4 separate regions of the Homo sapiens genome follow, and all the other regions are linked to region 4. The links are contacts of gene promoters, found by promoter capture Hi-C in blood cells and fetal thymus (Javierre and others, 2016). All regions are on one chromosome and are shown on one strand. The core of a region is centred on a gene start or on the middle of the fragment in contact, and the rest is flanking DNA. Distances in the headings are between cores, read along the strand shown. Region 1 holds the start of C1GALT1C1 (C1GALT1 specific chaperone 1). Region 2 has its middle 10 kb from the start of ZBTB33. Region 3 overlaps TMEM255A (transmembrane protein 255A). Region 4 holds the start of LAMP2 (lysosomal associated membrane protein 2).

The links. Contacts are between HindIII fragments. The CHiCAGO score rates a contact against its expected background, and 5 or more counts as called.
Region 1: a contact is called between the fragment with the promoter of C1GALT1C1 here and the fragment with the promoter of LAMP2 in region 4, in 3 of 17 cell types (neutrophils, monocytes and naive CD4 T cells). The highest score is 7.1, in neutrophils.
Region 2: a fragment that was not itself captured here is called in contact with the fragment with the promoter of LAMP2 in region 4 in 16 of 17 cell types (neutrophils, M0 macrophages, megakaryocytes and 13 more); the score reaches 8.7 in neutrophils.
Region 3: a contact is called between a fragment that was not itself captured here and the fragment with the promoter of LAMP2 in region 4, in 11 of 17 cell types (naive CD8 T cells, M0 macrophages, megakaryocytes and 8 more). The highest score is 9.7, in naive CD8 T cells.

What each region holds. Positions count from the first base shown.
Region 1 is chrX:120,628,576-120,635,680 of GRCh38, forward strand. C1GALT1C1 (C1GALT1 specific chaperone 1) reads right to left here and starts at 1,479. Exons shown (of 2, transcript NM_001011551.3): 1 at 1,342-1,479. RefSeq lists an enhancer at 860-1,787 and a silencer at 1,447-1,716. The HindIII fragment of the contact is 14,165 bases long and covers 1-7,105 here.
Region 2 is chrX:120,236,937-120,244,254 of GRCh38, forward strand. It overlaps the pseudogene NKAPP1. Among named protein-coding and RNA genes, the nearest start is that of ZBTB33, 10 kb to the right of the region's middle. The HindIII fragment of the contact is 4,758 bases long and covers 2,032-6,789 here.
Region 3 is chrX:120,303,173-120,310,246 of GRCh38, forward strand. It overlaps TMEM255A (transmembrane protein 255A), which reads right to left. Exons shown (of 9, transcript NM_001104544.3): 2 at 1,177-1,319. Among named protein-coding and RNA genes, the nearest start is that of TMEM255A, 4.8 kb to the right of the region's middle. RefSeq lists an enhancer at 6,256-6,305. The HindIII fragment of the contact is 7,318 bases long and covers 545-7,074 here.
Region 4 is chrX:120,464,180-120,471,054 of GRCh38, forward strand. It overlaps LAMP2 (lysosomal associated membrane protein 2), which reads right to left and starts at 5,117. Exons shown (of 9, transcript NM_002294.3): 1 at 4,927-5,117. The coding sequence starts at 4,990. RefSeq lists a silencer at 5,055-5,319. The HindIII fragment of the contact is 7,034 bases long and covers 2,075-6,875 here.

The DNA of each region.
Region 1 (7,105 bases), core at 229-2,728, 160 kb after region 4:
CCATTACAGAAGAATAATTGCCATAGTGCTTCTACCACATTAGAGTTTAATAAATGGGTTACTGAATATCCTTGTTTTCATACAAATGGGAAAAAAGTGGGATCTGTTGACCATAACTGATATTTTGCACCCAACAGCACCATATTGCTACAAGGAAACCACTCCTGTGGTTTTCTGCTAGAGGAAATGGAATTTTGACTTCTACCAGAAAGACAAGGTGTGGAATAGCTTGGCAGATGTAATTTCTGAGCGGTGGGTGGGGCAAGAGGCAGGAAGACTTTCCTGTGTCACTCACAGAACTTGGTCAATAAACACAGTTCCAAGAAGAGAAGTGACAGAAAACAAGCTCGGCATAATATTAGAATTGTCGGCTGTGTGCGGTGGCTCACGCCTGTAATCCCAGCACTTTGGGAGGCCGAGGCAGGTGGATCACCTGAGGTAGGGAGTTCAAGACCAGCCTGGCCAACATGGTGAGACCCTGTCTCGACTAAAAATACAAAAATTAGCCGGGCATGGTGGCATATGACTGTAATCCCAGCTACTCAGGAGGCTGAGGCAGGAGAATTGCTTGAACCCGGGAGGCGGAGGTTGCAGGCAGTGAGCCAAGATCGCACCACAGCACTCCGGCCTGGGCAACAAGAGCGAGACTCTGTTTCAAAAAAAAAAAAGAAAGAAAGAAAGAAAAAAGAAAAAGAATTGTCAGGTGCACTCTAAGATTAATTTATATAGGATTTTTGTATTTCATGTCACGCAGTTTTCATTATTTCTGGCCAATACATAATTCACATGTTTCTTTGCTCAATTATGGCATATGTGTCAGAATTCTTCCTGATGGTGATCCTACTCCTGGCTGCAAAAATAGTGATCAAAACTCAGTAAGTCTACACATTTTAAATAAAATAATTTGCAAAAATTATTCTAAGGAGATTTTTTCCCCATCACAGAGGCAAAAAATATAACACTAGGGATGCATATGATAGGATACTTTGTGCAGAAGGAAACAAAACTGCACACGAGCACAAATGAAACAGAAACTACCCCAATGGTTTTTAGATGAACCTTTTTGGGTGAAGGTAGTTGGGGTGAAGTACGGAAAACGAAGACGAAATAGGGAAGAGAAGTGAGAGGGAGGACATGGTAACCTCGATATCCCTCTGAGGGACCAAGAGAGCGCCCCCAGGAAGAAGACTCTCGGTCTCCTGTGCTGACAATCCTCCCGCTGCACCTGCCCAAGCATCCCGCGTGGAGCATGCTGGGAGAGGGCTGGGGCCCAGGCCTCCCCCAAGAGAGGGAGGGGAGTCAGGGTGCGCTTGGGGTGGGGGTCGAGGCCCCGCCACTCACCCGCGTCTAGAACGGCTTGGGGACAGGAAAGCGCAGCCGCGCACGGGTTTCCTCTCACGTTGGCGCACCACTCCGTTACGCTCCTGACCAGGCTGTTCTAGCTGCAGGCGGTGTTCTCTCGTTGGTCTCGCTAAAGGTGGGGAGCGCCAGGAAACGAGCGCCGCGAAGGCGGGGGTAGTGGGGCGGGGTAAAGGAGCCGGCGGCTGGGCGGAGCCGTCCGTTTGCCCGCCCGCGCAGGCGTCGGAAGGGCCGGCGCGCCCGCTGCGCGCACACTGCGTGCCCTTTCTCCCCGCCCCCTGCCGAGTTCAGAGACTTGCTATAGGCCTGCGTGACCCGGACGCTCTCCTTTACCCAACGGGCGTCCAGAGAAGAGGCCGTGCGTACGACTCGCTGACACCTCCCATTTCACCTTCCTGGCATGGAAATTGCGAGAGCGAGAGATTCTTGCTCCCGGTGTCGCTTTTTATCAGACCTCTTGATGGTTTCTCTGATGTACCCCTGCGTCCTTGAACCCTCATATTGCCCACCCCCCCAGTACTCCTGGGCTGAGACCAAAACGCAAGCCACTGAAATAGTCACGTAATTATGACACCAACGGTTTCCTATTATTACTGGAATGAGATCTGAAGCCCCACTGCCTGGAATCCAATCCTGTCTTCACCACACCTTTTGATATCCCAGGAAAGTTATTTCACCTCGCTGTGCCTCAGTTCCCTCATTTGTAAAGTACAGAAAATGTCACAGTAGTGCCTATTTCATAGAAAATTAGATGAGATAGTGCATATGACTCCCTTAGCAAAATTTCAAGCCTAGAGTAAGCATTTACTAAAAAGTACTGGCTGTTATTATTCACCCCAGTATTTCTAGTACTTAACCACAGTGCCAGCACGCAGTGGACAGTAAATATTAGTGGAATTAATGAATATTAGAACTACAGCTGAGGAACCAGGCCTAAAAAGGATAAGGAAATTTCAAAAGTCCACACAGCAAGTTAATGGCAGAGGTGGGACTGGAATCCAGGTCTCTTTTTTTTTTTTTTTTGAGACGGAGTTTCACTCTTGTTGCCCAGGCTGGAGTGCAATGGCACGATCTCGGCTCACTGCAACCTCTGCCTCCCGGGTTCAAGCGATTCTTCTACCTCAGCCTCCCTAGCAGCTGGGATTACAGACGCCCGCCACCACGCCCGGCTAATTTTTGTATTATTAGTAGAGACGGGGTTGGCCAGGCTGGTCTTGAATTCCTGACCTCAGGTGATCCACCCGCCTCGGCCTCCCAAAGTGCTGGGATTACAGGCTTGAGCCACTGCGCACGGCCCCCAGGTCTTCTAATTAAGAGTGCAGAGCTCTCTTTCCACGAAATATTTGATGTGTCTCTTTTTTTTTTTTTTTTTTTTGAGACCGAGTTTCGTTCTTTTTGCCCAGGCTGGAGTGCAATGGCGGGATCTCGGTTCACTGCAGCCTCTGCCTCCCGGGTTCAAGTGATTCTCCTGCCTCAGCCTCCCTAGTGGCTAGGATTACAGGTGTGCGCCACCACGTCTGGTTATTATTATTTTTTTTTTTAGTAGAGACGGGGTTTCGCCGTGTTGGCCAGGCTGGTCTCGAACTCCTGACCTCAGGTGTTCCACCCGCCTCGGCCTTCCACAGTGCTGGGATTACAGGTGTGAGCCACCGATCTGTCTTTTAAAATTCATTTTTGGCCAGGCGCAGTGGCTCACGCCTGTAATCCCAAAACTGTGGGAGGCCGAGGCAGGTGGATCACCTGAGGTCAGGAGATCAAGACCATCCTGGCTAACACGGTGAAACCCTGTCTCTACTAAAAATACAAAAAATTAGCCGGGCGCGGTGGCATGCGCCTGTAGTCCCAGCTACTCGGGAGGCTGAGGCAGGAGAATGCCGTGAACCCGGGAGGCGGAGCTTGCAGTGAGCCGAGATAGCGCCACTGCAGTCTGGCCTGGGCGAAAGAGCGAGACTCCGAGGCGGGCGGATCACGAGGTCAGGAGATCGAGACCATCCTGGCTAACACAGTGAAACCCCGTCTCTACTAAAAATACAAAAAATTAGCCGGGCGAGGTGGCGGGCGCCTGTAGTCCCAGCTACTCGGGAGGCTGAGGCAGGAGAATGGCGTGAACCCCGGGGCAGAGCCTGCAGTGAGCCCAGATAGCGCCACTGCACTCCAGCCTGGGCGACAGAACGAGACTCCATCTCAAAAAAAAAAAATAAAATAAAATAAAATAAAATAAAATAAAATAAAATAAAAATTAGTCGGGCGTGGTGGCTCATGCTTGTAATCCCAGCTACTCGGGAGGCTGAGGCAGAAGAATTGCTTGAACCTGGGAGGTGGAGGTTGCAGTGAGCCGAGATCGTGCCACTGCACTCCAGCCTGGGAGAGTGAGCAAGACTCCATCTCAAAAAAAAAAAAAAAATTCATTTTTGTGGCAGAAGGCTTTTTGCTAAAAAGCCCAAATTTTTACAATTATTTAAAGTGTATTGTTACTAGGTTCCATTAAGATAAAATTGAGTGGTGACTTACTCGGGCCTGAGTTCCTAAAGACACACATGTATTTGAGTGTTGTCAGTGACCTAGTTTAAGTAGACTGAAGGTTTCAGGGAACTCTGAAACAATGAACAAATATATTGTAGGTAGTTACTATCCTGGCAACACTATCTTAAAATCTGGAGATACAGTGGTGAGCAAAATAAGTACCCTGACTTCATGGAGCTGTCAGTCAAGTGGGGAAGAAAGACATTAAACAATTTATTACAAATAATTATAATGGTGGTATGTTTTCTAAAGGAATACCAAAATGAATTTTATTTCTGACAGTGGGCCCGCTGGAAAAGAAAAAATGAATTTTAGAACTGGAAAAGAATTTAAGACCGTGGAATATTTTCATTATATTTTGTTAAGTAATATAGTCTATTTCACATATTATATAAAATATATATGTATGTATGTATATATACCTATATAGTTAAGTGAAACAAATTGCAGAATACTGCATATTATATGATTATGTTTTGGTGGAAACAAACGTGCACATAGGTTTGATCTGTTCGTATGAACAAAGAGAGTTATGGAAGAATACTCAGCAAGCTCTTAATATTGATTACATCAGGAGGTTGAGGTGGGGATGATTAGCTTTGTCTTTATACATCCTTGTATTGCATTGTTTCACTGGTTATAAACAAGCACCTATTTTGAATTTGAAGACCAGCAAATAAAAGGACCTTAAAATTACAGGGACAAAAAGAAAAAAAAGAAAAGATACCAATAAAAATATCTTTTAAAGAATGCAGAGAACCACTCTGTCCTCGCAAAAAGGGACCAGGAAGGACAGAAATGACACTCAGAATTCAGACTGTGATGAAGAGGCAATATAAAATGTTTCTCCTAGAAAATAAGGGCACCTATTTGAGATGATGAATATGTTCATTAGCTTGATTGTGGTAATCATTTCACAGTGTATACATATAGCAAATCATCACATTGTGCACTTTAATTGTATACATTTATTTGTCAAACATACCTCAATAAAGCTGGAAAAAAATAAAATGATTCTTCTTTTAGTATAGAAAAGTACTGTATACCAAACTGGAAGTATTAATAATATAAGAGCAGCGCTTCTTATAGTGGTTGGTAATTTTAAAAAATATTATTTAAAAAATGACACAAGAGACCAGGCATGGTGGCTCACACCTGTAATCCCAGCACTTTGGGAGGCCGAGGCAGGCGGATCACCTGAGGTCAGGAGATCGAGACCATCCTGGCTAACACGGTGAAACCCCGTCTCTACTAAAAATACAAAAAATTAGCCAGGCGTGGTGGCGCACGCCTGTAATCCCAGCTACTTGGAAGGCTGAGGCAGGAGAATCGCTTGAAACTGGGAAGCGGAGATTGTAGTGAGCCGAGATCATGCCATTGCACTGCAGCTTGGGTGACAGAGCGAGACTCCGTCTCACACACACACACACAAAATTGACATAAGATGCTCTGAGACAGAATAAACCATGGGATTTTCAACACCAAAAGCTCTGTTAATAAGAAATTGTCTAAGAACCCAGTTCTTTACTTGACAAATAACTTACATATACTTAGCATTTTAAATAAAGTTAGTGAGATGATTGACTTATGGCTTTTTTTTTTTTTTGAGACAGAGTCTCACTCTGTCACTCAGGCTGGAGTGCAGTGATGTGATCTTGGCTCACTGTAACCTCCATCTCCCAGGTTCAAGTAATTCTCCTGTCTCAGCCTCTCGAGCAGCTGGGACTACAGGCGCATGCCACCACGCCTGGCTAATTTTTGTATTTTTAGTAGAAACAGGGTTTCACTACATTGGTCAGGCTGGTCTCCAACTCTCAACCTCAGGTGATCCACCTGCCTTGGCCTCCCAAAGTGCTGAGATTACAGGCGTGAACCACCACGCCCAGCCAGTAATGGCGTTTTTTTTAAAACAACATTCCATATCTCAGCCTTAATTTAAAAAACATGTGCAATTAGTATCTATTAAAATTAAGATGTTCATACTTTTTGGCCCAGCAAACCCATTCTAGTGATCTCTCCCACAGAAATAGGGGCAAATGCATTATTGTTTTTCTGTTTTTGTTTTTGTTTTTGTTTTTTGTTTTTGTTTAGAGACAGGGTCTCACTCTGACACCCAGGCTGGAGTGTAGTGGTGCAATCATGGCTCACTACAGCCTCCAACTCCTAGGCTCAAGCAATCCTCCTGCCTCAGCCTTCCAAATATGGGGTCTACAGGCAGGCACCACCACCCTGGATAATGTTTTGTAGAGACAGGGGCTTGCTGTGTTGCCCAGGCTGGTCTTGAGCTCTGGCCTCAAGTAATTCTCCAGCCTCGGACTCACAAAGTGCTGAGATTACAGGCGTATGCCACTGTGTCAAGCCAGCAGTTTTTTTTTTTTTTTTAACTTTCATTTTAGGTTAAGGGGTAATGTGCAGGTTTGTTATATAGGTAAACTGCATGTCTTGGGGGTTTGGCATACAAATTATTTTGTCACCCAGGTAATAAGCATAGTTCCCAATAGTTAGTTTTTTAATCTTCTCCTTCTCCCACCCTCCACGCTCAAGTAATCTCTGGTGTCTGTTGTTCCCCTCTTTGTGTCATGTGTTCTCATTGTTTAACTCTCACTTATAAATGAGAGTGCGGGTGTGGTGGCTCACGCCTGTAATCCCAGCACTTTGGGAGGCCAAAGCGGGCAGATCACCTGAGGTCAAGAGTTCGAAACCAGCCTGACCAACATGGTGAAACCCCGTCTCTACTAAAAATACAAAATTAGCTGGGTGTGGTGGCACACACCTGTAATCACAGCTACCCGGGAGGCTGAAGCAGGAGAATTGCTTGAACCTGGGAGGCAGAGGTTGCAGTGAGCCAAGATCACACCATTGCATTCCAGCCTGGGCGACAAGAGCAAAACTCTGTCTCAAAAAAAGAAAAAAAAAAGGCATGGCGCAGTGGCTCACGCCTGTAATCCCAGCACTTTGGGAGGCCAAGGCAGGCAGATTGCCTGAGGTCAGGAGTTTGAGACCAACCTGGCCAACATGGTGAAACCCCATCTCTACTAAAAATAAAAAAAATTAGCCAGGCATGGTGGCACACAACTGTAGTCCCAGCTACTCGGGAGGCTGAGGCAAGAGAATCACTTGAGCCTGGGAGGCAGAGGTTGCAGTGAGCCGAGATCGCACCACTGCACTCCAGCCTGGGTGACAGAGCGAGACTCTGTCTCAAAAAATAAAAAACAGAACATGT
Region 2 (7,318 bases), core at 3,161-5,660, 230 kb before region 4:
AAAAGAACAGTGTGTTTCAAGACAGGGCCCATCTCCATTTATGCTGAAGAGCTTAGACACAACCCTGTAGTCTAAAGGAATCTTCCGAAGAAGCTACTCATAGGGCTTTATGGGAAGGTGGCAGCCAAACATCTATCTAGTATATTGCAAATTCTGTTCACTATCCTCCCTTTCTGTGGAGGACATAGGGAAATAGGAATCATTCTGGCCCAAAGTTCCTCTGCATCAAATGAAACACAAGAGGAGACTCTACCAAAGCCAGAATGAGGCAGTTCTCCCTTTGCTCACCCATCCCCAGCCCAGAAGGCATATTGTTGCATATTCCCCAGCTCAGAAGCTGACAATCATGCATTCAAATGTATTTTGTCTCATTCAACCTCCTTGAAAGGACCCTGGTTCCTGATGATAAAAACACAAAAAGGGAACCTTTTGTTTAGTGCTGCTAGAAGCAAGAGGGAGGAGGTAGTTCCCTGATTAATATTCTAGATTAATTGATCATCAAAAAGAAGCAGTCAGACCTTGGCTTTCTTTATGCTGTCTTCCTCATGTGAAACTGCTAGGCTAGAAAACAACAAAAATTTAAAAATGGAGTGTGATGAGAGTTGAGGAGTTATTGTTAATTTTTTTAGGCATGATAATGGTATTGTAGTTATGTTTTTAGAAAAAGAACGTGTATCTGATATGGTTTGGCTCTGTCCCCACCCAAATCTCATCTTGTATTATAATCCCCACATGTGGAGGGAGGGGTCTGGTGGGAGGTAATTGGATGGATGGGTTTCCCCCATGCTGTTGTCATGATACTGAGTGAGTTTTCATGAGAACTGGTTATCTGTAAAGTGTCTGGTGCTTCCCCCTTCTCACTCTCTCTTCTGCTCCCATGTCAGATGTGCCTTGCTTCCCCTTTGGCTTCCGCCATGATTGTAAATTTCCTGAGGCCTCCCAAGCCATACAGAACTATGAATCAATACCTCTTTTCTTTATAAATTACTCAGTCTCAAGTATGTCTTTATGGTGTGTGAAAACAGACTAATAAAGAAAACAGTCTTTTAGAGAAACATGCTGAATTGTTTATAAATGACATTATACCTGGGATTGGTTTCAAATTAATTAGGGGGCAATGGCAATTTCCCACAAGTTGTTAATTGTTCAAGCTGGGTGCTACGTGCCTGAGGGATCATTATACCATTCTATGTATGTTTATACACATTTGACCTTTTCCATAATAAAAATTAAAGGAAAAAATCTGGCCATCTGCATTTCTTTTCCTTTTTCTTAGCTGTCTTTGCTCTCATTTTTGTGTCTTCATCTGCAAATTAAAACACATTATAATTTTTAAAAAGTTACCTCTAAAACCTCAATACTTTTGAGTAAATAAATATGCTTTTGCTGTTTCTCATTTGTTGTTACAGAGAAATTTATTCATTCAAACATTTATTACTATTTGTCAAGAACTGTGCTAGGCACTGGGGATATATATATTATTAAAGTCACATTAGGTATTATATGATATAAGAAATTAATGTTAATTTTTTCATAAGTTAATGGTATTATGGTTAAGTAGGAAAATATCATTTTAAAGAGATACACAGAAATATTTTGTAGTGAAATGTGATGACATTTGTAATTTACTTTGAATACCTTAGTGAAAAATCCATATTTGAAGCAAACATGTCAAAATGCTAACAAATGTTAAACCTGAGTACTAAGGTATATAGTATTAATTATACTATTCCCTTTACTTTTCTGAACATTTGAAGATTTCCATGATAAAAAGGGAAAGAAAACTATGTGTGTGTTGGAGTGGGGAAGGAGAATGCTTTCTAGGAGCTCAGTCTAATGGAGGAGACAAATAGGTAAAGAGATTGATACAATCCAGAGTGACATAAGGAAGCTTGAGGTGCTCTGGACACACAGAGGAGTCTCAAAATCAGAACTGATTTGAGGAGGGGGGTTGAGGAATGGTTGACCAAGAAAGGTGGCTCTGAGAGTAGTTATTTGATTACAAAATCCATTGTTGCAATGAGTAAGCCAAGCTTGTTGGAAGAAGAGACTGGTATTGTAGGCAGAGGGCCTCTCTACCAAGCAATAGAGTCAAGAGAAAGAACATGGAATACTGAGGAGACAGAAAGCAGTTCTAGCCTAGGCAACACAGCATGACCTCATCTCTACAATTTTTTTTTTTTTTAATAGCTGGGCATGGTTGCGCATGCCTGTGGTCACAGCTACTCGGAAGGCTGAGGCAGGAGAATCACTGGAACCCTGGAGGTGGAGGTTGCAGTGAGCAGAGATCGAGCCACTGCCCTTCAGCCTGGGTGACAGAGGGAGGCCCTGAAAAAAAAAAGAAAGAAAAGGAAAAAGAAAGAAAGAAGAAGGCAGGCAGGCAGGCAGGCACGAAAGAAAAGAAAAGAAAGAGAAGAGAAGAGAAGAAAGAAAGAAGGAAAGAAAGAAAGGAAGAAAGAAAAAAAGTTTTCAGGCCACAGAGTATGGTGCAACAAAAAGTGACAGGGTATATGTGATTAGAGAAGGATCAGTCAGGGTCTGAACTTTACCCTGAGGGCTATGGAGAACTACTGAAGGATTTTGAGTATGGCACTGACATGCTTAGATGTGTGCTTTAAGAAAGTTTGGTTTTCCAGTGGCAAGGAAGTAAAGTGACATTGGGGACCAGGAAACTGGGGCAATATCAGAGGAAGCAGAGCCTTTGTGGAATATGCCAACCAAGAGAAAGCACCCTCTGGTCAATCATTAGACAGGAGAGGGCGTAAAAAAGGTGGCTTTTTGTGATGCACTACCCCAGATGGGGTGCCTTCCATAAATTGGCAGCCAGTCTAAAGGGAGTGCCTTTTTGAAAACTGTACAGCAGTGCCCACTGGGCACGAGAATTACACAAATGAGCCCTTCCACTGGGCTGATGCAGCCCTGTAAGGCTTACTTTGGTACAGCCCAATCCCCTGACTTGGTCTGGTGCCATGTGCTTTGTACAACTATGCACAACCAATCTGGAGTCAGATTGCTTAGGTTTGAATCCCAACTGTATGACCTTGGGGACAGTACTTATAATCTGCTCTGTCTCCATTTCCTCATCTATAAGATGTACCCAACAGTTATTTATGGATTAGATGGTAATAATGAATATAAAGCACTTATGGGGAATGCCTGGCACAAGGTTAGCAAGCGTTCAAAAACTCTTCAGTATTATTAGTGTTTTCAGGAACCTTCTTCTAAAATAAGTTTTAAGAAATAAAACTAGTTTTGAAGCAAGGCTTGCAGAATGCTGTTGGCTTTCTTACCACTGGAGTCTGTTTCAGAATCAGAGTCACTGTCGCTATCTTCAGAATACTTCTTGTGTTTTCTTTTTGATAAATTTTTCTTTCTTCCTTTCTTGGACCTTTCACTTGAATGACTAGACTACTATTTTTCTGTAAAAATATAAATAAAAAAGTAACTTCTAAAAAAGTATTTCTGATTATCAATTTTATTGCATTTGAAATACTGAAAAGGAATAGATGATAGGCAATTTGAATAAAAGTAAAGTCTAATGTTTAACTATTTATAAACTTTTTCTAACTTCTCAAGAAAGGTCTGTATCTTAAAAATACTTTCTGATGTAGAAACTGAAGTAGTGCATTTCTTTGGCTCTTCATTCTTTACTTCAATATGTTCAGCAGAGCTGAATTTAAAGAAAATGGTTATAAGAATTAGAAAAGTGATGAAATATGGACCATAGAGTATAAAAACACAGACTTAAAACTTTTCAGCAACAATGACAATTGTCCAAGAACCATTAAAAACAAGCATTGGACTTCTTTCATAAGAATACAGTTCATGTCTGTAATCCCGGCACTTTGGGAAGCCAAGGTGGGAGGATCACTTGAGCCCCAGAGTTCAAGACCAGCCTAGGCAAAATAGCAAGACCCCATCTATACAAAAAATTTAAAACATTAGCCAGGTATGGTGGTGCTTTCTTGTAGTCCCAGTTACTCAGGAGGCTGAGATGGGAGGATCACTTGAGCCTGGGATGTCAAGGCTGCAGTGAGCCATGATCATGCCATTGCACTCCAGCCTGGGTGACAGAGCAAGACTGCCTAAAAATAAAATAAAATAAAAAATAAATAAATACAGTTCAAGGGTCTGCCACCTTCATAATAATAAAATAACTTACATTTGCACAATGCTTTACAGATTACAAAGCACTACTCAAACTGAAAGCAGCATGGAGGATTTATATTTTCAGAAGAAATCACAGGCTAAAAATAGAGAAAACAGAATCAGAAGGAAAGATGAAAGAAACTGTATATAAAAAGTCTGAAGAAGATATCATAATTTTATTCTAAGCATGTAAAAAACAAATGGTAGAGCAGCAACTGTTCTGTCTCCTCAGAGCAAGAAGATCCTAAGAAGCTACAATCTAAAGAGATTTGGGGGACACATGTTCTCAGGACCTGAGGCTATGTCACGGTAAAAAATTGTGTGTGTGTGTGTGTGTGTGTGTGTGTGTGTGTGTGTGTATTTGTTTTGTTGCAGAGAATTCTTAAAATAAGTATTATTAAAGTTCTACAGTAGGCTTGGCGTGGTGGCTCATACTTATAATCTCAGCACTTTGGGAGGCCAAAGCACAAGAACAGCTTGAGCCCAGGAATTCAAGACCAGCCTGGGCAACATAGTGAGACCCTTCTGCACAAAAAATTTAAAAATTAGCTGGGTGTAGTGGTGTGCACCTGTATTCCCAGCTACTCGAGAGGCTGGGGCAGGAGGATCACTTGAGCTGGGAAGGTCAAGGCTGCAGTGAGCCATGATCGTGCCACTGCACTCTAGCCTGGGTGACAGAGTGAGACCCCGCATCAGAAAGAAAGAGAAAGAAAGCAAATAAATCAATAAATAAAGTTCTACAATACTTTAGAAAGGGACTTTCTATATTATATAATCTTTCCCTTTGAAGATCACATCTGCAATAATTTAGGTATTGCCTAGAAAATTATTTTTAGGGTTCCTTCTGACTCTAATTCTATGAGTTCAGGTCCTTTAAGCATTTACCAAGGGTATCTATAAGAATACACTTCAGATAATAATGTTTTATCACCTTGTCACAAATTACAGGTTTACCTGTGAAACACATTGCCTCAACTCAACCTAAACACAGAAATAGAGGAGAGGGAAGAAGAAACTTATGAGCAACACCAAAGAGAAAAGAAATAAGCAAAAAAAAAAAAGTACTAATATTTCACATAGTATTGGATACAGGAAAATTAACTAAACCGAACTACACTGGCATCTGCATTTTTTAAAAATCGCTGTGTAATACTATTGTCTGGAATGCAATCTGCTCCTGGGTTGAAGAAAAAAATCAAAATATAAATGTATTATCTGTTTTAACACTGAACTCCTCTATTAATAGGAAATTAGCACCCCATGAATACAATTTAAAGAAAACAATTAGCATGCTAAAATGCACTAGCAACATGTTTTAATTCTTAGGTATGTTAGACTCCCTTTAGTTCCTTTTTAAAAAAGAGTACCTTACCTATCTGTTCTTTGGAGGACACTAATTTTTTATTGTATTATAATGTTTGTCATTTATTGTTTTAATTTTTGCTGTTACTCATAAGCTGAAAAAAATAAACTAAGAGAGGTTCAATTTCCTCAAAGTTTAGCTGCTTACGTCTATAAAAATCCTTATAAAATAAATGTTTGATTTCATTGTTTGAATAAATATTTTTTACTTCTTTATTCAGGGAAAAGGTATTATAAGTATACAGAGTTAGTCTCAGAGGGTTTCCCATTTCAAGAGCAGGTAATCAAAAAGTAAACATACGTCTAACAGTTCTTGGAATATGAGTATAGGGACCAAGGATGCCTGCCAGACTATAAAGACACACAGTCTTTGTGGTGTGAGGCACAAAATTAAGGCCCAATATTGTGTACTACCTTGACAATTGGGGAAACCAGGAGGGCTCCCAATGGCCTTACTGCGAATTCTCCTCTCCATTCTGCTCCTGCAAATAAGGTCCCCTAGCCAAATGACCCTCCTTCTCAAAGAGACCAGACGCAGTTCCAGCTTATCTCTGGGTAGCAGATTTTAGTACATTGTCAGCTTGTGGAATTATTCAAACAAGCCAATCATATCCTTCCAAGGGAAAGCAGGTATTACCTCAATTTCTTGATACCACAAAGTCTACCTCCCACAGCCCCTGATTATTCACTGTCTTACCAACAGCAACCTCGGTGTGGCCCTTCGTGGCACGCTGTGTTCTCTCCCATTCCAGCTGTGAACATATGTGATTAATAAACTGCTGTTGATCTCATCTGTCCTGTGTTCAGCTACTCCATAACACAAAGGGTGGGAATCCTTCCCTCATCAACATGGTGAATAGCAGACAATTATAACACTCCCTGCTGCTACCTGGTTTTATCTGTGCCTTAAGATAAATTATTTATCTTCTATGTGCACAAATGCAAATTTTACCCAAGTTGTTCTTATATGTTTTGGTTAGGATTCTAAAATAAGAAGTTTTTTGATTGACACAAACTGGGAGGACCTTTCCATCCCAAAGGCAGGAGCGCTCCTCAGAGGACAGGTGCAGTAGTTTCACTCACCTCTCCCACATGGGCAAAAAATGTGTATCTGTAACCTAACTCAGGACTGTTTTTACTTCCTCTGCTCCCAGGCATGAAACTCTAATAACCAACACCTGTGAAATGCTTATTACGTTCAAGGCACTACATCATTACAATAACCCTAAAAACGTCAGTACTATTTGTATCCCCCTTTTACAGGTGAAAAAATAATGAAGCTTGGAGAGGTTACCAAGGTCACATAGGTATTAAGTAGCAAAGCAAGGCTTCAAACTCAGAAAGTCTCAATCCAGAGGCTGTCCTTCTCATCACTATGCTTTATTACATCCCACTAGTGGAAGAAAAAGACTCATCAAGACATCTCCCACCTGTTGGAATTTCAACCTACCCCTCAATACCTGTAATGTTTTAAAATTTCTCATTTTTTAACCGTAGTGCATGTAAGGCACTCAGTATAGTACCTGACACATTCAATAAACATTTGATATGAGTACTTACACAGCAATAATTATAATTATTTTCCTTCTCAAACCATCTACTTCCCACTCCAATATTCACTCTCATTAGAGGAAAACTCATCTCACTCTCCTCTCATTCTTCAAGGTCAAGATTGAGACCACTTAAGACCTTCCTGAAGGTAGCCACATCTGCAGTTTAGCACATCACTTTGCCTACATTCATCCAGTTATCTTGTCTCAGAGGAAGGTATTTCTCCTTTCCAATTTAAACCCTTAATCTCAACCCT
Region 3 (7,074 bases), core at 2,954-5,453, 160 kb before region 4:
GAACTGCATGCACCCTAGGGTAGATAAAACAATCCACTGGAATACGGCTGTTTCCTATTTATTGTTTATCTAAAATAATAAGAAACCAAACATTACTAATATTTAATAAACAGACTGTCACTGGCACCCTCTGTCCGTGTGAATGTCAGGTGATCAGGTGAACTATCCTTCTGGAGGAGGGCAAGTTCCAAGCAACAAACGGTTGATGGTGGGGCATTTTATGTGTGCCTGGATTGTATTATCCAATTTTAACGAAACTAGTCTCAACAAAATGGATAAGAGGCTTGAAAAGATTCCTCTTGAGAAACCAGAAGTTGAAGATGACCCTAATAATGTAAGCAAACGTAAGCAACAAGAAAATGGCAGAGTTTAATACTTCTAACTCCCAGGGTAGATTTTTGGCAGCCAAATTGTGATATTGACATTTAAAAACATGACTCCAATGACAGTCTAATCATATGGGATAAGAAGGCAGCCAAAAATATTCACAATTATCTAGTGGGCCATTTGAAATAAGGATTTAAAGCCACTGTCTTTAATGACAAGCTTCACACTAAGTGCATATTATCTGGTGACATTTTAGTTTGTGTTCACATGAAGATATTAAAAGTTATTGTATACTTATTTTTATCTAATTTTTGAATGTTCATTTTTATATAAGTTTTATGAACATGTATATATATAATTTATAAGTGAATAAATATACATATTTTAGGAACATATCTTCCACAGCTTTTTCTGATAGGAGTGCAGGATCACTTTGGAGATCAGTGCTGTTGGTCAGAGTGTCAAGCTGCCAGGATCCTCAGATTTCAGGTGAGATCAGATGACCTCTATTATATATGGGAATGCAGATGCCCGGAGAGAAAGGACCTTAGCCTAAGGTTAACACTGCTGGTAACATCTCCTAAACCAGAAACCTGAGGTATTAAAGAGTGAGATGACTTGCTCAGGATCACACTGTTAGATAGGGATGGTGCTGGATTCTTCTGATTCTCAGTCCAGTGCTCTTCTTAGCGGGCCCAGAGTTGCCTCTCCACATAAATATACAGAGATACAAAGGAGGAAATCTGAGCAAACACTAGACACTCAAACAGAATTGAAAACTATCAGAGCAGAGCCAGAATTTCTGTAGACAGCAAGCTACTGCGACCTACCTGTGCCTTCTATACTTACAATAACTCCGGGGTAATAACCTCCTACAGTCACATTCTGGGTCCTGGTGGTTGCAGCAAGGCCCACTGTGAGAATTAACACGGACACAATAAGCAAAGTCACGGTGACATAGATGGAGTTTCGTTTCCTCCGATTGAATGCTCCTGAAAGCACAGAGAGAAATTAAAATTGCTCATTTCAGCTGGGGAAAGGATTGACTTAAAGAAAAAAACACTAAGAAGGTTTTCCTTTCCTATTCCTACCGGTAACTGAAGTTATCTTTGGTGGTGACGGGTGGGGGGTTGTGGGGAAGGGATAGAGCATTATTTTTTGTAGTCATCAGGTGCCACTTTTATAATAAAATATGTATTTCCAATTTGAAAATAAACAACAGAAGAAATTTCACCAGTTACGTAAAAACAAAACGAATTTTTGTGCTCCTGGCACTCTGTAAGAGATGTGTCACAACTACTTAGTAGAGTGGTTTTTTAGACCAAATTAGAAGGCATATGATAAATGGGAAGTGTGTGTGTGGGGGAGGGGGTATTAAATGAAAACATTTTAAAGCCAATATCCAACTAAAAAGATTTTTTTCATAAGCTAGAGATATGAAATTTCATTTTCAGTGTAAATATCACAGCCAAGCCAAGTTACTGGGATTTTTTTTTCATTTATTTCTGACATTTGCCACCTCATGTATAAACTTTAAAATGGTGTATTGGCAAGATTTGTCACATAACAAATGTGTGTAATAAAGTGAGTGTTTGGAGGCCATTAGTCCACAAAGATATGTATCGGGGGAGTTAGGTGGGGAGGATTATAACTTATACACATTTAGGCTTATGTGAGGGTGACATAAACATAAATGATGAGAAACCCATTCTCCCACTCAGGGCTTATCAGACATGATAGTGCAAACCAATATTTTTTTGAAAACAGGATTATTAAGTCAGACAGAAAAATGGTATCTAGGCTCACTTTTTAATTTATTTTTTTTTAAAGGAACCGAGCACTGTCTCACACTCTGCAGGGATTTCTCAGGCATAGGGAGAGGGCCTTCAACAGGAAATAACCAGGGGAGAGTTACTACCTAGGAGTTCTCAAAAAAAAAAAAATAAGCAAATGAGAAGAGTCTAGCTCTCTAGTGGAGGTTTGGAGCATGAGGAGGATGAAGCAGTGAGGAGCCCTGATGGAGTCGCCCACCCACGTGGCTTGACTGTCATTTATGGCCCTAAAGAGATCACTTGAGTCTGTCCATAAGACCCTGTCATTCTGGGAGACCTCACTGCAGCCTCAGGAAGCAGTTGTTGAGAGAAGCCATGCAGACTGCTCCATGGGGAGGGAGGGGAGAGGGGATAGAGGGAGGGGAGAGGGGATGGAGGAAGGGGGACGAGGTCAAGGAAACGAAGCGAGACCCAGGAGGCAAGGTGGTGGTGAGACGGGAGGGGTTGTGGCTGGCCTTGCAGTCCACTGCAGATATCCCCTCCTGTATGGAAGAAAAGCACTGGGAGTATCACCCGGGCTTAACCCCACCATCCATCCTGTCTTCCCCAGTACTGTCCCTGCTGAAGTCTCCAAGGGAGGTGGGAGGGGCAGGCGGTCTCCCCTGACGTCAGCTTCGAAAATGAGGGATGTGACTCATCAGGGTCATTTCTAATATGGGACTAATCTAAGACTATTTTTCGTTGAAATGTAGAAGTGGTTTGAACGTTTATAGGCATCTACAATGCTAAAGCACCATGTCTCACCCTGGGGAAGAGGTAAGAAGAGTTGGCAAATGAGACTCATCTTTAAAGAGACCTGAGTCCAGCCTCCATGGGACAAAAACATAAAGGCCCACTAGAGACACCTGTAACATCGGGGCCCTTTCATGACAGGGCTATTAGGGATGCAAATGGGAGCTGACTAATGGTAAACACAGGAGCAAAGCCGGGAGCTCTGGACTGCATGGTACTGGGAAAGGAATAGTAGAGGGTTGGGGGAAGGCCAGGATTTATTTCTTCTGGTTACCTGAAGTTTAGTTATCCTTCCTCTTGATTTTGAGGGACCCTAAATTAGTCTCTAAACCAGGGTGCCTAAGTTTATTTGATGATAGATACTTCTCAGTGAATCTGTGAGTTGGTTCTACAGAGGGGCTCTAACATAAACTTACCAACATTGCCTCCCATTCTTGTCTTCCCTTCTCTTTTGTCACTCACACAATCTCTAGCCCTCCCCTGCCCCAAACTGGCAAAAGAGAGTGAGAGAACATTTGGATACACCACGGATATCTTTGTGATATGGAAGTGTCTCAACACCTTACCCAGAAAACATGTAACCTGACAGACTAAATTGGAGAAGTGTGTGTGCATGCATGGTCTTTTTAATTTTGGTTTGTTTGTTTGTTTGTTTCATTTGCCTGCTCCTTCCCCACCAGCTGGCCTTTAATCTTATTCACAGCTCTTGGGTCTTCTTTGCAAATATCACTCTAACTTTTAAAAGCGCAGGAAGAGCCAGGTCAGAAAAGTGACTCAGCAAACCACATAGTGTCATTTGAAAATCTTTTTTCCTGCTTTAGAACCTGAATTGAAAATTCAGTCACTTGAGCAACCCAGGCAAATATCCCACAGCCCCACAGGGGCCTTGACTCCAGATAGGATTTGCTTTGGATAAAATTCCTAAGAAAACTCTCTGATCACCAGGTCGAATATCTAATCTCTGTCCCCTCACGAGCGTCCTTCCCTGTCACCACTTATTTTATAAGGACCATAATTGTGTAACATGAAATTATTTCTAGTTGCACTTGGGGAATTGACTGTTTTAAGAAAACCCCCTCCCAGGGTGACTCGTTTTGAAAATGAAGAATCACCCCTCAATTTATCTTTAGTGTCAATTCGACTCAATAAAATTCACATCTACTTAGAGCAAGATATACCCATTTTCTGAAGGTGTGGCCCAGGCTCCTAAAAGGCAGTTTATTGTGTCTGCTTAGGACATTTTCCTGGTGGTTGTTTTATTTTAGAAGGGAGAAGTACAGCCGTGTTCTTATTCTGGTACAATTTGGGGCTTGCCTTAGATGTTTCTGTAAACACAGGACCATCTTATTCTGATTTTGTTTAGTAAAGTGACACGTAAAAAAACTCAGGCACCAGGAGGTACTTAAATAAAGCAGCAGGTATATGAAAATCATGCCTATTACGATTTATACCTAGTGTTTGATACCTAATAAACAATCGGTACTTGTTGAATAAACAAGAGGCAACATCTCAGAATTGTTTCCCTTTTAATCAAGAAGGATGTGGGAGGAATTGTGTGAATAAATATGGGCTAGTCTCATAGAATTGATTTTTTAATGTAGGGTACACCTGAGGGTTCCCTCAAATTAAAAGCCTTCTGGCTAACTAGTGTGAAAACTACAATATCTCTCACTACTCTGTCTCCTTGGCACCCAGTATATTTCTGCTTAAACAACAACCACCTCTGCAACCAACAGCAGTGAGAGAGTCTGAAATCTTTTCATTGGCCTTGCCTGCCCCTCCTCAGCAGCCTCCCTGCAGAACTACTGCAGCCCTCCCTCTCTGCAGTGCCCCACCTCCACCCCAGATTCCTGATGACCAGGATGCTTAGCTCTAGAAGCACCCAATTATTTGCTATCTCCACCCTTCCAAAAACAACCAGCTTTTCTCTCATCCGGGTATTCCCCCTGGTCAGAGCCCCCATCTGCATTGCGGTCTTTGAACCTGGGTGCCTCCCTTCCTTTGAAACATGCTCAAAATTCCCCTCCTCCAAAAAGTTTTTCTTGATCAAAATTAATCACTTATTCATGTCCCTAAATTCCCAGGTACCTTACTCAATAAGTATATTAATTGTAACTGGTACCATTACAATTGTAACCGTGGGTCTGGTCCACAACCCATATGATATCTGCCAGTCCCAGGATTGTGTATCTGAGGGAACCAAGATGTGAGTTGCTAGAAGGTAGGATGCTGTCTCTGTTACTTTGTTTTACCTTGCACACGTTCTTGATTATCCTCTCCCAAGAGAGTAGATAAGGTGTATAATCTTTATTGGGCACAGAAAAGTTGGGAACCCAGTATCCTGTCCTGTACACGGTGTTGTTGATGCCTGGCTAGTTCTCTGGGTTGATCTTTTGAACCGATTAGGATTTGCTTACCTGAGTCAGCTTTGCCACACAGGGTGGGTCCCCGGATATCCCAGCCTTGAGTATCCCTAGAAACAAGTGGCTGCCCACACAAGGGCCTCAAGACCCTGCCAATCTCCCAAACATTTCCTTAAAGGCGCTGAAATCCATCCCTCCCCACTTTAGACAGTTCTCTGAATGGAGAACATCCGAGGCCGCCCGCGAATTACAAATGTGTTATTTGGGAGGAAGGAATGCCCTACTGTAGTAGAGGTGCCTTTGCGCCTGGGGGCGGTGTTGCCAAAAGGGAGAAGGGGGTTGCTGGGAGGGGATGGGGGGACACTGGAGTCAAATTACCATCTTCTTAATTGCAAAGCGCCTGCTCCACTCTGAGCCTTGGACGCACTGCTCTATTCCCAGGCAGCCAGCAAGCGTAGAGTGCAGGCACCTTGGTGCAGTGTGTCTGCGTGTTTTAAATTTTATTGTTTTGGTTGCGGTTGTGTCTTGACAATAAAGGGAGTCCCCTCAGAAATGCTGCCCTTGGAGGCTGAAACACTAACCTACCTACCCACTGTCCTCTTCCCCCCACGCAAGGGAAGGTGGTGTTGCCAGAGCTAAGTGGGAGTAGCTCCTAAGTAGCCTAGACGCTGATTCAGGCCCGGACTGTGCGGGACCAGGGCCAGGGAACTCCGGGGAGACTCCCCTGTCCAAACTGTGGAAACCCAGCGTTAGCACTGGACTCAGGAATTTGCCAGTGCCGTCGGTCTGCGGACTTCAAAAAGTGGAATGCGTGGCGCCGGCTCCGCTTCTATCTGGGATTTATGATTCCTTTCCCGCAGTGTGGAGACTGGGCTGGGCGAAGCCCACTCAGCTGTTTGTTGCGCAGACCTTTCGAGAAACACAAGATCGCTGAGGGCCCCTGGGAGCCCAAGAAAGAAAGCTCTTCATCTTGTTCCCCAACCCACAGAGCAGTGCGCCAAGTAGCGACTCTTTAAGCCCTGGGCCACCAACCAGCCCACTCCCCGAAGGCAGACGGGCCCGGGGCGCTGTGGCTTGATTTGCAGGTGGTTAGGTGGTTGTCGTCCGCAGCGGGAATGGACGCTGCGGAACCCCAGCACTCTTCCACTCTGCCCTCCCTCGCGAAGCGCAACAGCTTGGCGTCGGGGAGCCAGGGCTGCGTTGTTGGCGCCACAGCTGGCCAAGGTAAGCAGTGCATTCCCACCTCTCTGTCTCTCTCTCTCTCGCTCTCGCTGTCGCTCTCTCTCGCTCTCGCGCTCTCTCTCTCTCCCTCTCCCTCTGTATGTGTGTGCGCGTGGTGTGTGTGTTGGAGAAAGAGTGCGCGCGCGCGAGCTGGGAGTAAGGGGGAGTCTGGTACTGCTGGGCTCGGGATTCGGACCAAGTCCTTGGCCTCATTTGTACCCCGTTGTAAATAACTACGCCCTTAAAAATGAAAAAGCAAATTCTTATACTGAATATGCAAAACCATTGAGGATACGGATCTTTCCACCATCCAGGAGATAACACTTTCTGGGGCCCCTCCGGTGAACGAGTTTTGTTGACACTGAGTCTTCTGCGGGCAGTAGGGAGATTATATAGGGGGTTCGATCTTCTCCCTGCCCCCTCCACTCGAGATGTTCCCGCAAATTCATCGGAGAAGACCTGAGCAGACTGATGGCAGGAACTGCGGGACAGAGGGATTTTGCAGAATGTAAAGTATGTTGGAAAGAGAGAATTCGATTTGATTGAAGTGTATCCGAGGCGAATTTTAAAAGATTAGGTGGGATCATGATTTTACAATC
Region 4 (6,875 bases), core at 3,867-6,366:
GAAACTAGCATTATTATATGGGATTATACATTAGTAAATTACTGTATAATTATCCGTACTGCTTAGCACTGATCTTGAAGTTTTCAATCCAAAAGAACTTCTTGCAAAACATCATTTAAAATTCATGGAAGAAAAAGGAGACTAAATGAGTCTAGTTTACCACCATATCCCTAGTGCCCACCAATGAATATCTTCAACAAAAATTCACTACGGGTTAACCATGTACCAGACCCTATGCTAGGTAGGCAATGGGAAGTAACAGTACATAAGATCGTCTCTGCTCTTAGAGACTGCTACCATAGGAGAGACTTGACTAAAACTAGGGGGAAACAAAAAAGCGTGGAAAATAGGCTAGTAACCTAAGATTTTGCAAATGATAAGATTTATTCCTATTTCCCCAGATGGTCACATGGCTGGCCTCCTGCCAACACCCAGGTCTCTGCCCAAATGTCACCCGATAACGGAAGGCCCTCTGACCACATAATATAAAGAAGGATCATCCACCATCACCCATTCCTATCATCTACTCATTCTCCTTTCTCATTACCTGTGTAATTTTCTTCATAGTGTTTTTGTTTTGTTTTGTTTTGAGACAGAGTTTTGCTCTTGTCCCCCAGGCTGGAGGACAGTGGCATGATCTCGGCTCACTGCAACTTCCACCTCCTGGATTCAAGCAATTCTCCTGCCTCAGCCTCCCGAGTAGCTGGGACTACAGGTGCTGGCCACCATGCCCTTGTATTTTTAGTAGAGATGGGGTTTCACCATGTTGGCTAGGCTGGTCTCGAACTCCTGACCTCAGGTGATTTGCCCACCTTGACCTCCCAAAGTGCTGGGATTACAGGCGTGAGCCACCATGCCCGGCCTCTTCATAGTGTTTATCACTATCTGACATTATATTATTTATCTGTTGAGCTTTCTTCTCCCATTAAAATGTAAGCTCCATGAGAGCAGGAACCTCATCTGTCTTATCCATTCCTCTGTCCCTTTCACCTAATATAGTGGCTGGGACACAATAGGCATTCAGTAAACGTGTGGAAGGGAGAGGCTCCTACCAGTAACATACACTAAGAATATTTCTGTGAGGTTTTTCCCACCCAGAAAAGCCTCAAACCTAAAAAAAAAAAATTCTGAACCCTAAAAAAACAAACAAACAAACCAAAAAACAGAAGTCAAGCTAGTTATAAGAATCAATAACCACAGAAGAATCCTGAAATCTATGATATCACAAAAGGACCATAATTAGGCAATTATATAAAGAAAGGATTTTCACCCACTATCCACTTTATAACACCTCTAAATCATATAGCTTCTCTTCGGAAAGTTGTCTGGTCAGTTACAATTCATCCAAATAAACACCAGCATAATTTAATCTCTATGAAAAAGACCAATATATAGCCTCTAAGAATCCTTTTCTGTACTTATTCTAAAGCTGCTGTTTTTAAAAGGTTATGGGTGAAGCTGGGATAGAGTTATAAAGTTACAAAGTCAAACTGGCACAGCTAGAGCACTAATGCTAATAAGACTATAAATTTAGGACAGGTCCTCCTTCATTGGCACTCCGTACAGTACCCAGGCACAGTTCTAGCTACATAGTAGGTACTTTACAAATATTTATTGATTTAGCTACATATTAGGTACTTTACAAATATTTATTAAGTTTTCAAAAACCTATTATTGGTATCCATTTTGATATAGAAAAGTAACTTGTGCAAAACCCACCAAGCAACTGCTAAATTCTTGACAGAAAAAGCTATATGGGAGGACTTTGGGCTCCACACTGAACCAAGAGCCATCAGAAAATGCAGCTGTATAGAAAAATGGTTTCTATTTCATCCTGGAACCTCTTAAAAATCAGATCTAGGTACATTATTAATATTTACTTTTCCAAATCCTGCTCTGAACTTGGAGGCGGAGGGAATCAATCTTGGAAATTTTCCAAGAGGAAGAATCTAGTTAGTCCTGATCAATAAATGGCAAACTAGCAGATGAGCTGATGGGTTCTTTTATGTGCTTCTTTTTGCATGTTTATTTTCTGCAGTGAGTAAGCATTGCTTTTGTAAAAACAAAACAAAAAAGCTTTCATTAAAAAACAAAAAAAAATTTAATGACATGAAAGCCAACAAGTAGGACAACTATTATTTTTTTCACTTTCCCAAAACAATAACAGTGTTGTATTTGTGCACAGATTCAATTGGCAGGGAACTACTGATTAACAGATGCCTTGGTCAGATGTGTTCTAGTCACTGATAAGGTACTTTCCATTGTAAACAATCCTTTCTTAGGGTCAGTTGGCCCTCAGTAAGTGCTCCAAGGTACAGTTAAGGCTTCCAATTAAGTATTCAAGCAAAGCCTGCCTCAAGGCCGCCTTTCAGAAGTGCTACAGAAGAGTTTCCTGCGCGCTGTGAACAGTTGGACTACATCAGGGATTCCCAAAGTTTTGGTGTCAGGACCCCTTTACTTTCTTATCCACTGAGGACTTCACAGAGGTTTATGTGAGTCATATGTATTGGTATTTACAGTATTAGAAATTAAAACTGAGAAATGAATAAAATATAAGAACATCAGAGTGGTGAGGTCATCACATGTTACGTAGCCACTGGAAAACTCTGCTGTACACTGGTGAGAGGATGAGAGTGAAAAGGACAAAGGACAAATAACTTCTTTTTTTTTTTTTTTTTTTGAGACAGAGTTTCGCTCATGTTGCCCAGGCTGGAATGCAGTGGCGCAATCTTGGCTCACCGCAACCTCCGCCTCCTGGGTTCAAGCGATTCTCCTGCCTCGGCCTCCCAAGTAGCTGGGATTACAGGCATGTGCCACGACACCGGCTAATTTTTCTATTTTTAGTAGAGACTGGGTTTCACCATGTTGGTCAGGCTGGTCTTGAACTCCTGATCTCAGGTGATCCGCCCGCCTCAGCCTCCCAAAGTGCTGGGATTACAGGCGTGAGCCACTGTGCCCAGCAGAAAAGGACAAATACCTTCTTAACCTTATTCCGAAGTTTTGATTTCACAGACGCATGAAAAGGTCCTCGAGAGTCACTGAATTAGATAATCAAGAACCCTTCCAATACTATGGTTTTCGAGCAGGATTTATCAATGTTGGCACCATTGACATTTTCAGGGAGATGATTCTTTGTTGTCAGGGGCTGCCCTGTGCTTAGTTAGGATGTTTAGCAGCATCCTTGGCCTCTACCCACTAGATGCTAAAAGCAATCCCCCAGTTGTTACAACCAAAAATGTCTCCAGATGTTGCCAAATGTCCCCTGGTTGAGAATCACTATTCCAGGGTGTTGATTTCATTCTACTGAAATGTGAATTACAAAATGTATACCTCTCACTGCTTTCTCAGACCCCTAATATGTCTATTTCTTCCCCACTCCCATCTGGGTCTGTTCTTTATGTTATTTTATTAAGTCACAAATAGCAAGAGCAGGTGGGTAGCAACAAGCACAGCATGAATCAAAGTCAGGAAGAGACACTTTAGTCAAAGTTCACTTTTAGGCATTAAAGTTGTTAGCGACCCACTGCCTATTAGGGCACAACACAATCAGCGAACATTCACCCAGCCATTTATTTATTGATTTATTTATTTTTATTTTTTGAGACAGAGTTTCACTCTTGTCGCCCAGGCTGGAGTGCAATGGCGCAATCTTGGCTCACTGCAACCTCCGCCTTCTGGGTTCAAGCGATTCTCCTGCCTCAGCCGCCCAAGCAGCTGGGATTACAGGCATGTGCCACGACGCCCGGCTAATTTTTGTATTTTTAGTAGAGACGGGGTTTCACCATGTTGGCCAGGCTGGTCTTGAATTCCTGACCTCAGGTGATACACCCACCTCGGCCTCCCAAAGTGCTGGGATTACAGGCATGAGCCACCACGCCCGGCCCCATCCAGCCATTCTTAGGCCCTGGTAACAACCCAATCCTTAGCAAGTTTGTCTACCTGCTCCCTGCACCCCCAAAATATGAGGTAATAGGCTAGCTGTGTGATGGGGAAGAAAGAAAAGAAGAAACTCTGAAGGCAAAGAGGTAGTCTACCAAACTCAAATACTCCACCCCCAAAACCTCACATCTGGGAGGCCCTCCTAACTGAAACGTCTGGGGATTTTTTTGTCAGCGTCTGGCTGGGAGGAAGTAGCAAAACTGGGAGAAAATCGACATCCTCAATACCTCCAAGTCAGATGTGCACTCCCCATCAAAGTTCCCCCTGAACCCCTTAGTCTCCAGAGGTTGGGTCCAAGTTTTCTTTCCTGGAAATTGCCCCAGCTACCTTAGGTTCCTTCGCCCTTAAAACTATGACTACCAAACTCAAACCCAGCATCACTCCTAATCTCTTGAATCATCCTTTCTTCACAGTCTCAAATTCCAACCTTCAAAATGCCCAACCCTGTCACTGCCCCTGCCCCTCAGGCTCTACTGTCCTATCTGTCCCATCTGTCCCCCACCCACACACTTCTCCCAAGCTACTCCAGGCAGGCATGGTCTTCTCTCTTAATTTCCTATCTCACCCCATAGTTTTTCCACCATCTTCAAAACTCTTCCCTGATCTCAGCAAACCAAGACTCTCCTAATTGTCTCTGGCGCCCAAAATCTGCATGTACCACCCTCCTACGCTCACTCCTCAGTGTTTTCCCCAAGTTACTCTTTCCACGCTGACCCTCTCCACGCTTCACTCCTCCCAGCCTACTCCCTCGGCGTCCACCCCCCGTTACCGGCCCCTTCTTACTCTCCTGGGCCCTTCTTCCCCGCCATCCGTCGGTCAGGCCTTCTCTAGGTCACCGCTTGCCTCCCCGGGCCAACCGCCGCCGCCCAGTGTTAGCTGCTGAGCCTCTCAACCCCCTCCCCCTCGGACCAGTCTTTCAGGTTGTAGCTTTGAACTGGTGCCCCGGGCCCAGGCGGACAGACTAATCGGGAGGGCCCGACAACTCACCCAGGACTAGGCAGACCAGAACGAGCCCTGAGCCCGGAACCGGGAAGAGGCGGAAGCACACCATGACCCCGCAGAGCAGGCGGCGACGGCGGCGACGGCGGCGGTACAACAACAGCTGCAACACCAGGGAAAAGGCTCGCTGGACCTGGGTCAAGAGCACTGATGACCACCGACCACAGCCTTGCAAAAGCCAGGAATCGGCGCTTCAGTGCGAGTCATAAGACTAGGGGCGGGGCTCTTTCTTGCTTACAGCCAATCTCCGCGCTTGAAAGCGGCGAGAGGGGTGGTGATGTAGCGGCCGGTGGGCGGGGCGACCACGCCCTGGCTTTTTGGTTCACAGCCCTTCCTATGCTCCTGAGAGATATGCGCGGACGGCATTTTCTTTTTCTTTTTCTTTCTTTTTTTTTTTTTTTTTTAATTTTACTTTAAGTTCTGGGATACATGTGCAGAATGTGCAGCTTTGTTACATAGGTATACATGTGCCATGGTGGTTTACTGCACCTATCAACCCGTCATCTAGGTTTTAAGCCCCACATGCATTAGGTATTTCTCCTAATGCTCTCCCTCCCCTTGGCCCCCACCCCTTGACAGGCCCCCGTGTGTGTTGTTCCCCTCCCTGTGTCCATGTGTTCTCATTGTTCAACTCCCACTTATGAGTGAGAACATGCAGTGTTTTGTTTTCTGTTCCTGTGTTAGTTTGCTAAGGATGATGGCTTCCAGCTTCATCCATGTCCCTGCAAAGGACATGATCTCATTTTTTTATGGCTGCATAGTATTCCATGGCATATATGTGCCACGTTTTCTTTATCTAGTCTATCATTGATGGGCATTTGGGTTGGTTCCAAGTCTTTGCTATTGTAAATAGTGCTGCAATAAACATACGTGTGCATGCGTCAAATGGTATTTCTGGTTCTAGATTTTTGAGGAATCGCCACACTGTCTGCCACAATAGTTGAACTAATTTACACTCCCACCAACAGTGTAAAAGCATTCCTATTTTTCCTCAGCCTCGCCAGCATCTATTGTTTCCTGATTTTTTAATAATCACCATTCTGACTGGCGTGAGATGGTATCTCATTGTGGTTTTGATTTGCCTTTCTCTAATGATCAGTGATAATGAGCTTTTTTTCATGTTTGTTGCTGCATAAATGTCTTTTTTTGAGAAGTGTCTGGTCATATCCTTTGCCCACTTTTTGATGGGGTTGTTTTTTTCTTGTAAATTTGTTTAAGGTCCTTGTAGATTCTGGATATTAGACCTTTGTCAGATGGGTAGATTGCAAAAATTTTCTCCCATTCTGCAGGTTGCCTGTTCACGCTAATGCTAATTTCTTTTGCTGTGCAGAAGTTCTTTTAATTAGATCCCATTTGTCAATTTTGACTTTTGTTGCGATTGCTTTTGGTGTTTTAGCCATGAGGTCTTTGCCCATGCCTATGGCGGACGGTATTTTCTAAGGCTAAGGAGAGAGGAGGAACTTTTGAGGGCCGTAGATAGTAGACTATTTCCGTTTTGGCTCCTTGACAAAGAAGAGAAAAATTTTGCGGGCACAAAAACGGTTGCTAGGCATCTCAAACGTAATACATACAAAAATAATACATGCTTATTCTCCAAACACTGTTGTTACCTATGCAGTTCATGCTGTGAGATGGACGAGGGAACCTAGGGGGTAGTATGGAGTCACGGACCATCGGAACAAGACATGATCTTGAAATTCACCTAGTTACAGCACCCTGTTCTCAGGTGGGGGAATTGAGCTCAGAAACAAGAAGCATCTTTTTTAAACACAGGAAGAAAAAAATGAGAGAAATAAAACAGAAGGATAAAGCGGAAAAATAGAGATCATCTGTATTCCTACTATTAACATTATTATATATATTTACACACATATATACACACACCCACATCTATACTTCCAGATATTTTTCCTATGTACATACACACAAATATTCTG